Regions from separate parts of the Homo sapiens genome. Here all the other regions are linked to region 2. The links are contacts of gene promoters, found by promoter capture Hi-C in human tissues and cell types (Jung and others, 2019). All regions are on one chromosome and are shown on one strand. The core of a region is centred on a gene start or on the middle of the fragment in contact, and the rest is flanking DNA. Distances in the headings are between cores, read along the strand shown.

Region 1 (2,700 bases), core at 179-2,678, 1.0 Mb after region 2:
TCTACTAATTACTGCAAATAAATATTTACTGAATCAGGAAGCTAACATTTTAGCTATTAATATAACATTATCATTATCAAAGGCAGCAAGTAAACGTAGTCTTTGTCTACAGAGAATAAAGTCATCTGTTGATTTGCTTAACATTAAAGATAGTTAAATAGGGTAACTTAGACATAAAATACACAGTAGTATTTGAATGATCTGTTTTAATTGGTTTCATTGACAAAGAACTGCAAGATCTGTTCTTAATATTAAGTGCTCATTTAGTCAAGAAAAGTGTTACACAGAAGTATTTTAGGAACTTGGTAATTTGTTTTGTTTGTGTTTTGGTAGGGGATGCAGAGAAAAAAGATTTACCCATTGTTTAATAAAGTCTTTTGCTTTCCAGAGCTTAGGATATCTCTACCTTAGGCTGGATCTGCTTTAGCAAAAGTGATAACAAGATTTCATGGATTTTGGTATTCTGAGAGCAGATTGGAAAAGCAAACATGCAGCGCAAGTGCTTTCCCCATTTGTTTACGTAGCTGGTAAGCAACATCATTTGGGTTGAACTCCAGGCCTGTCTGACTCCAGAGGCCATAGTAGTTCAATACTCCATCCTGGACAAGTTACACGGCAGAGTAATCAGCTGTTTCCTTATGTCAGATAAACTTACTGGAAAAGTCAGTTTATAGAACTATAGACTTCTATAGGTACAGAAGAATCCCTAAGAAGGGAGAGGGTGCTTTGTGCGTATTCAGAGCCACACATTTCTCCGGAGAAGAGATGGTTAGAGCATTGAGAGATGTCTGTGAGACCCTGGAGATGGAGTTAGAAGCAGAACCCCTGCAGGCAATAGGGAACTATTGAAGGATGTTAAGCAGGGGAGAAACCTGATGATCTGATGCATATTTTAGAAAGATGGACCTGCCGGGCCTGGTGGCCCACACCTATAATCCCAGCACTTTGGGAGGCCGAGGCGGGTGGATTACTTGAGGTCAGGAGTTCCAGACCAGCCTGGCCAACATGGTGAAACCGCATCTCTACTAAAAATACAAAAATTAGCCGGGCATGGTGGCAGGCGCCTGTAATCCTAGCTACTTGGGAGGCTGAGGCAGGAAAATCGCTTGAATTGGGAGGCAGAGGTTGCAGTGAGCCGAGATCACACCACCACACTCCAGCCTGGACAACAAAGCTAGACTGTATCTCAAAAAAAAAAAAAAAAAGAATGACCTGGCAGGAGTGTGGAGAAATGATTACCAACAGGCTGTAAAATGGAGACACGGAAACCAGTTAGGAGAGTTAGGAGTCCCCTCAGGAAGACTGAGGAAGGCTTTTGAAATAAGGCAGTAACAGTGGTCTGCAGAGGAGGGGACTGACAGGAGAAGCATACAGGAAGGATGGGAGGAGAGCACAAATCTGCAAAGAGTGGGTTAAATGATGCCATGTGAAATAGGAGATAGAGCAAGGTATTGGATGTAGCTGTTGTTACTGTTATCGTTATTTTTTTGAGACGGAGTCTCGCTCTGTTGCTCAGACTATTGTGTAGTGGTATGATCTCAGCTCACTGCAACCTCTGCCTCCCAGGCTCAGGAGATTCTCCTGCCTCAGCCTCTTGAGTAGCTGGGATTACAGGCACACACCACCATGCCCAGCTAGTTTTTGTATTTTTAGTAGAGACGGGGTTTCGCTATGTTGGCCAGACTGGTCTCGAATTCCTGACCTCAGGTGATCCGCCTGCCTTAGCCTCCCAAAGTGCTGGGATTACAGGCATGAGCCACCACGCCTGGCCTGTTACTGTTACTTTTAACTGGGTGTGGATTTTGAAATACTGAGGCACCTGCAGGCAGCCCAGGTAAAACTAAATTAGTAGGCATTTTAGAGCTCAGTAGAGAGAGAGGACATCAAGATACGTATTAGGAGTTCTCAGCATATAGGAATAGATGGGGCTGGGAGATGAGAAAAGGCTCAAGTATAGAACTGTAGGAAGTATTTCAGACTGTGTCCAACCTGAGCATGGATAAGAATTCACTCTCTCAAAGTACCAAAACAAACAAAACCCCAAACAGCAATTCAAAGTACTAAAAAAAAGTAAAAATAAAGGTAAATTAAGGAAAGAAAAGAATTAACTTGGATGTTCTTTCCTTTTCCTTTTCAGCAGCTTTATTAAGGTATACTTTACATCCTATAAAACTTACCCATTTATAGTATACAGCTCAATGGTTTTCAGTGTATTCACAGAGTTGTACCACCATCACTGCCATCTAATTTAAGAACATTGTCATTACTCCAAAAAGAAACTGTATCCATTAGCAGTCACTCTCTATTCCCTTTCCTCCCAGGCACAGGCAACCACTAATCTTTCCATCTCTACAGAATCACCTATTCTGAACATTCCATATAAATAGAATCATACAGTATGTTTTCCTTCTGTGTGATGTGAGACTTCTTTCAGTTAGCATCATGTTTTCAAGGCTATCCATGTTAAGCACATTATCAGTGCCTCAGTCCTTTGAATGGCTGAATAATACCCTATTGCATGGGTGTACGCATTTTTTTTTTTTTTTTTTTTGAGATGGAGTCTTGCTCTATGGCCCAGGCTGGATGGAGTGCAGTGGTGCGATCCTGGCTAACTGCAGCATCTGCCTCCTGGGTTCCAGTGATTCTCCTGCCTCACCCTCCTGAGTAGCTGGGATTACAGGCGCATGCTGCCATGCCCAG
Region 2 (2,827 bases), core at 139-2,638:
TCATCAGCCTGCCTGAGCCTCCCGAAGTGCTGGGATTACAGGCGTGAGCCACAGCACCTGGCCTGGCTCTTTGGTGTTTATGATCTGAAGGGTGTTGGTTGATATGCATGAAGACGAGGACATGGGTTCCAGAATGCAAATGTGAAGTCCAGGTCCTTCATCTCTGACCTGGGAGGCCCTTTAGGAGCAGTAAGTCCCCTCCCTCGTGTCTCCTCTCCTGCTCCTTTCCATGGAGCAATGAAGAACCTCAAAGTAGCTAGCTGTGGGGGAGAAGGGACACAGGAAGTCCTGGCCAGCACTCCAGCTCTGCTGTTGATTTGCTGTGTGACGTGGGGACAGTATCTTAGCCTCTCTGTGCTTGGGACCTCCTCTGACTGTCAGGATCACTGCCCTCCCCTCCCAGTGCTATCTGGGGACTGGGCTAGATAATGGGCACTGGATCCGCTGGAGATGCAGTCCTGAGCCTGACCCCAGTGCTCATTTCACATCAGGCTCAGGGTCCTGCCAGGAGGCTGAATGCCAAAGGTCAGTGGGGTGGTGGGGAGGGGGCTGCAGCCTGCCCTGTCCACCAGGGGAGTGGCATCTGGTCTATGGTGTCAGCCCTGGTCTGGATCCCTGCTCCTTTCTGTGGCTTCTATTCCTTTCATTTATTTTAGTTTAGTTTAGTTTTTGAGACGGAGTTTTGTTCTTATTGCCCAGGCTGGAGTGCGGTTGGCCAGGTTGATTTTGAACTCCTGACTTCAGGCAATCCACCTGCCTCAGCCTCCCAAAGTGCTGGGATAACAGGCACCGTGACCAGCCATCAATTCCTTTCTTTTTTCTTTCTTTTTTATTTTTATTTATTTATTTATTTTTTGAGACAGGGTCTCGTTCTGTTGCCAGGGTGGAGTGCAGTGGTGCGACGTCGGCTCACTGCAACCTCTGCCTCCAAGGTTCAAGCAATTTCCCTGCCTCAGCCTCCCAAGCAGCTGGAACTACAGGCGCAGGCCACCAAACCTGGCTAATTTTTTGTATTTTAGCAGAGACGGGGTTTCACCATGTTGGCCAGGATGGTCTTCATCTCCTTACCTTGTAATTTGCCCACCTCAGCCTCCCAAAGTGTTCGGATTACAGGTGTGAGCCACCGCATCTGGCCTTTGTTCTTTTGTAAACTATACCTGGGGAGGGAGTTGAGTCTGGCTGTACCTGGAGAGGGAATTGGGGGTGGGAGGATGGGAGGTGAGCCACCTCCATCAGACTTCCCCTGCCAAGCCCGAGGAAATAGAGAAAGAAAGGAGCCTGAGGGATCTGAAGCACCCCAGGGCCCTCCCACTCCAGTCCCACAAAAGGAAGAGGGTGGAGCCACCCTCATCAAGCAGTGACTTTTTGTGACTTTTGGGAGAGCTGACCTTTTGTGACTTTTGGGAGAGCTGCCAAAAGTGAAACTTAGTGCCTCAGACAAGCAGGGGCAAGTCTGCTAAGGAAGCTGTGGCCAGAAGCACAGATCAGGTACTGCCGCCCACTCTGTCCACTGGGCCCTCTGCTGCCACTTCCTGCCTGGCAGCCCTTCTGTGCCTCAGCCCTGGCCTCCCGCTGCCCCAGCCCCAGCCCTGGGCTCCTTCTCCTCTGGCTCCCCTGCCATCCCCACTCCCACCCAGGCTCTTTGCCCTGCTGTGTGGTCACCCCACTGCTGCTTCTGAACGGGCCGCCTCCCCGGCCTGCACCAGCCCAAGACCCCTGCTGAGACTCTCCCCTAAGAGTCATGGCTGGGCTAGTGCTCCCCACCTTGGGAGGGTGCTCTCTCTGTGTGCTTCCTGCCATTCCTGGGCTCTGGAACTGGGAGAACTGAACTAAAGGATGATGGGAGCAATCTGGAATTTTGTTCACAGTGCTTTGATGAACTTTGTGTAAGATTACTTTGTTTCAATACAAAGTCTTAGGAGAGGGTGTGGGGAGGCAATGATCTCTGAAGCACAAGGCAAATCATCTCTTCCAAGGATGTCTCCACTGTGGGCAGAGGAGGATGCAGATGACCCTGAACACACACTCCTCCTCCATGATCAGTATTCACATTCACCGTTTATAATGACACCAGTAACACGGAATATACGGAAAAACTCAATGATCAGGAGAAATGCTTTTATTTTAAAATTTAGGAAGAAGAGAGCCTGGTTCCCAAAGGCTCCCTCCTGCAGGGCCCGTGATGCAGAGGCTGGCAGGGCTGGCCAGGAAAGTGGCCCAGCTCCATGGCCTGGGCAGGTTACCCCACCTCTCTGCACCTCTGGCCCCTCCTCTGTAAGATGAGAATGGCCCCTGCAGGCCTAGGGCAGCCTCACGTGAGCTCAGATCCTCTCAGCACTTAGAAGAGTGGCCTGGGCCTGGGGATGGAAGTGCTACCCTGATTTTTTGTTTCGTTTTGTTTTTTTGAGAAGGGGTGTCTCAGTCTGTTGCCCAGGCTGGAGCGCAATCTCGGCTCACTACAAGCTCCACCTCCTGGGTTCACGCCATTTTCCTGCCTGGCCAGGCAAAATGGCTCATGCCTGTAATCCCAACACTTTGGGAAGCTGAGAGGGGAGGATCATCACTAAAGGCCAGGAGTTCCAAACCAGCCTGGGCAACACAGGGAGACCCCCTTATCTACTAAAACTAAAAAAATAAAATAAAATAACATGAATAGGTAAAATGCCAGGAATTAATTGAACTGAAATATTAAGAGCTCTTATTTTGAAGGGGAGAATTTTATTCACTTTTCTTATTTTTAATGGGTTAGAGGATGGGTGGCAGAAATACTGGGAGGATGGGAGATCCATCCCTGGAAAGACCAGAGCTAGGGCCCTGAGCTGGGAGA
Region 3 (2,700 bases), core at 11-2,510, 1.2 Mb after region 2:
GGCGGATCATGAGGTCAGGAGATTGAGACCATCCTGGCTAACACGGTGAAACCCCGTCTCTACTAAAAATACCAAAAATTAGCCGGGCGCAGTGGCGGGCGCCTGTAGTCCCAGCTACTCGGGAGGCTGAGGCAGGAGAATGGCGTGAACCCAGGAGGTGGAGCTTGCAGTGAGCCAAGATAGCGCCACTGCACTCCAGCCTGGGTGAAAGAGCGAGACTCCGTCTCAAAAAAAAAAAAGAAATGGCAGAGCTGGGTTGGGAGCGGTGGCTCATACTTGTAATCACAACACTTTGAGAGGATGGCTTGAGCCCAGGAGTTTGAGACCAGCCGGGAGGTCAAGGCTGCAGTGAGCCATGATCACGCCACTGCATTCCAGCCTGGGTGACAGAGTGAGACCCTGTCTCAAAAAAAAAAAAACAAAAAAAAAAAAAAAACAAAACTGGGGAGGCAGGCAGAGCTGGGATTACAAACCCAGGCAGTCTGCCTCTAGAACTAAAGTCTTTTTTTTTTTTTTTTGAGATGGAATTTCACTCTTGTTGCCCATGCTGGAGTGCAATGGCACCATCTTGGCTCACCACAACCTCCGCCTCCCAGCTTGAGGCAATTCTCCTGCCTCAGCCTCCCTAGTAGCTGGGATTACAGGCATGCGCCATCACACCCAGCTAATTTTGTATTTTTAGTAGAGACGGGGTTTCTGCATGTTGGTCAGGCTGGTCTTGAACTCTTGACCTCAGGTAATCCACCCACCTCAGCCTCCTGAAGTGCTGGGATTACAGGCGTGAGCCACCACACCCAGCTCTAAAGTCTTTTTTTAACCTTTTTATTTTTTTAAAGAGATGATAGCTCGCTATGTTGCCCAGGTGTTCTCAATCTCCTAGGCACAAGCTAGTCCCCCAAACTGCTGGGATTACAGGTGTGAGCCACTGTGCCCAGCCTCTAGGACTAAATTCTTGGCCATTGTGCTACACTACTTGGCACTCACGGACACGTTCTTAAGCTTGTTCTCCATGGCCCCAACTAGTCCAGTGGGTTCAGTAGATGAGGGTGCAGGGAAACTCACTTCTTCTTACTTAAATCATCTTAGAGGAGCAAACCAAAGATAGGAGGGAATCCTCTGTCGCCAGAGCTTCCTGCAGCCTCGCCTAGCTCACTCCTGAGAACAGGGAGAAGGACCCTGCCGGGTCAGTGACCTTCCAGGCTCTTTGATGCTGGCTCTTTTTTTACACTGCCACTCTGTGGGTGTTTGCTATCAGAAGCCATGCATTGAAACTCATGTCTTCTATTTACAAGTTAATATATTTGTCTTACTTGTAGCACAGAAATACTTTCACGTAAGTATTATTTATTAGCTTTATGCAATGTAGCATGTTTTGTTTTATGGCACATTTCCAGTAATAATTTCTTGGTTGGATAAAAGCCATATTGTCATCAATTTTTTTTTCTTGAAGATGTTTTCCTGAATATAAAATTTATACTTTTTATTGTAGAAAATTGGAAAGTCTAAGAAGAAAATTTAAAAACTGTTGTAATCTCACTGCTCCAAGATAATCATTGTTAACCCTTGAGTGTATTTTTCCTGTTATATATTTTTCACAGAAAAGTTTGACAACTCTTGCTTTAGATTCATCAAGATTCTTTTCACAGAAAAACAGTTTTATTTTGATAAATTCTGAAGATTCCTTTTCTTTTCTTTCTTTTTTATTTTTTTGGCTAGGTTTCTGCCTCAATGCTCAAGCAGTTTCCCAACAGTGGCCTGAGTCCAGGTCTTTTCAATGTGGGGCCCCAGTTATCTCCTCAACAAATTGCCATGCTGAGCCAGCTTCCACAAATTCCCCAGTTTCAGTTGGTAAGTAGAAGATTTTCTTCCTGTGGCTAAAAAGGTCATTTGCTTTTTTTTTTTCTTTAGCTTTGATTTGCTTCCCACATCTTTGCCACTTTCTATGTTCAAAGGGTGCTAGTCCACACTTCTTTGCAAACTATGGAGTGTGCTTAAGGGTTGTCAGCTCAACTGGAGGAAAATGTAACCAAGAGACCGGGAATTTGGTGTTACTTCCCTCCTGGATACTTTTGATTGTGTGACCTGTACTTCAGTGCACAGACCCTTTAGGTGTCCTCAGTAAATCAATCTCAGGAAACTTTGGTTTTCTGTCTTTCCCCCTTGTTTTGTAGGCATGTCAGCTTCTCTTGCAGCAGCAGCAACAGCAGCAGTTGTTACAGAACCAGAGAAAGATTTCTCAAGCTGTACGCCAACAGCAAGAGCAGCAGGTACGTGGGTAGGCAGGGTCCCTCCAGTGCTGTGTTGGAGGAGTACATCCCGGCTTAGCCTCTGATGGCAAAGAACCGGGCACAGTCTTTTCCTGGGAAGTTCGGGGCCGTGCTTATCACGTGTCTGTCTCTCTTGGCCCTCAGCTGGCTCGAATGGTGAGTGCACTGCAGCAGCAGCAGCAGCAGCAGCAGAGGCAGCCAGGCATGAAGCACTCGCCCTCTCATCCTGTTGGGCCCAAGCCGCATCTGGACAACATGGTACCCAACGCATTGAATGTGGGGCTCCCAGACCTTCAAACCAAAGGGCCAATACCTGGATATGGTTCTGGTAAGTTGTTGGTAGAGAAAATTACCTTTTTAGAAATCTACCTCTCTAGGCCTGTGGTAGGGGTTGCACCTGCATTACCCTCCTTTTTTATGTCAGCTGTACAAG

What was found. Contacts are between HindIII fragments. The study calls those that stand out against the background at their distance.
Region 1: a fragment that was not itself captured here is called in contact with the fragment with the promoter of APOBEC3H in region 2 in 1 of the 25 tissues and cell types used here (dorsolateral prefrontal cortex).
Region 3: a fragment that was not itself captured here is called in contact with the fragment with the promoter of APOBEC3H in region 2 in 1 of the 25 tissues and cell types used here (hippocampus).

What each region holds. Positions count from the first base shown.
Region 1 is chr22:40,136,795-40,139,494 of GRCh38, forward strand. It overlaps a transcript of TNRC6B not described here. Among named protein-coding and RNA genes, the nearest start is that of TNRC6B, 40 kb to the right of the region's middle. The HindIII fragment of the contact is 3,810 bases long and covers 1-2,700 here.
Region 2 is chr22:39,095,856-39,098,682 of GRCh38, forward strand. It overlaps APOBEC3H (apolipoprotein B mRNA editing enzyme catalytic subunit 3H), which reads left to right and starts at 1,389. Exons shown (of 5, transcript NM_181773.5): 1 at 1,389-1,488. RefSeq lists enhancers at 511-1,710, 1,033-1,920, 1,251-1,590, 1,921-2,807. The HindIII fragment of the contact is 18,686 bases long and covers 1-2,827 here.
Region 3 is chr22:40,298,739-40,301,438 of GRCh38, forward strand. TNRC6B (trinucleotide repeat containing adaptor 6B) reads left to right here. Exons shown (of 23, transcript NM_001162501.2): 13 at 1,717-1,848; 14 at 2,172-2,267; 15 at 2,412-2,595. Among named protein-coding and RNA genes, the nearest start is that of ADSL, 46 kb to the right of the region's middle. The HindIII fragment of the contact is 7,080 bases long and covers 1-2,700 here.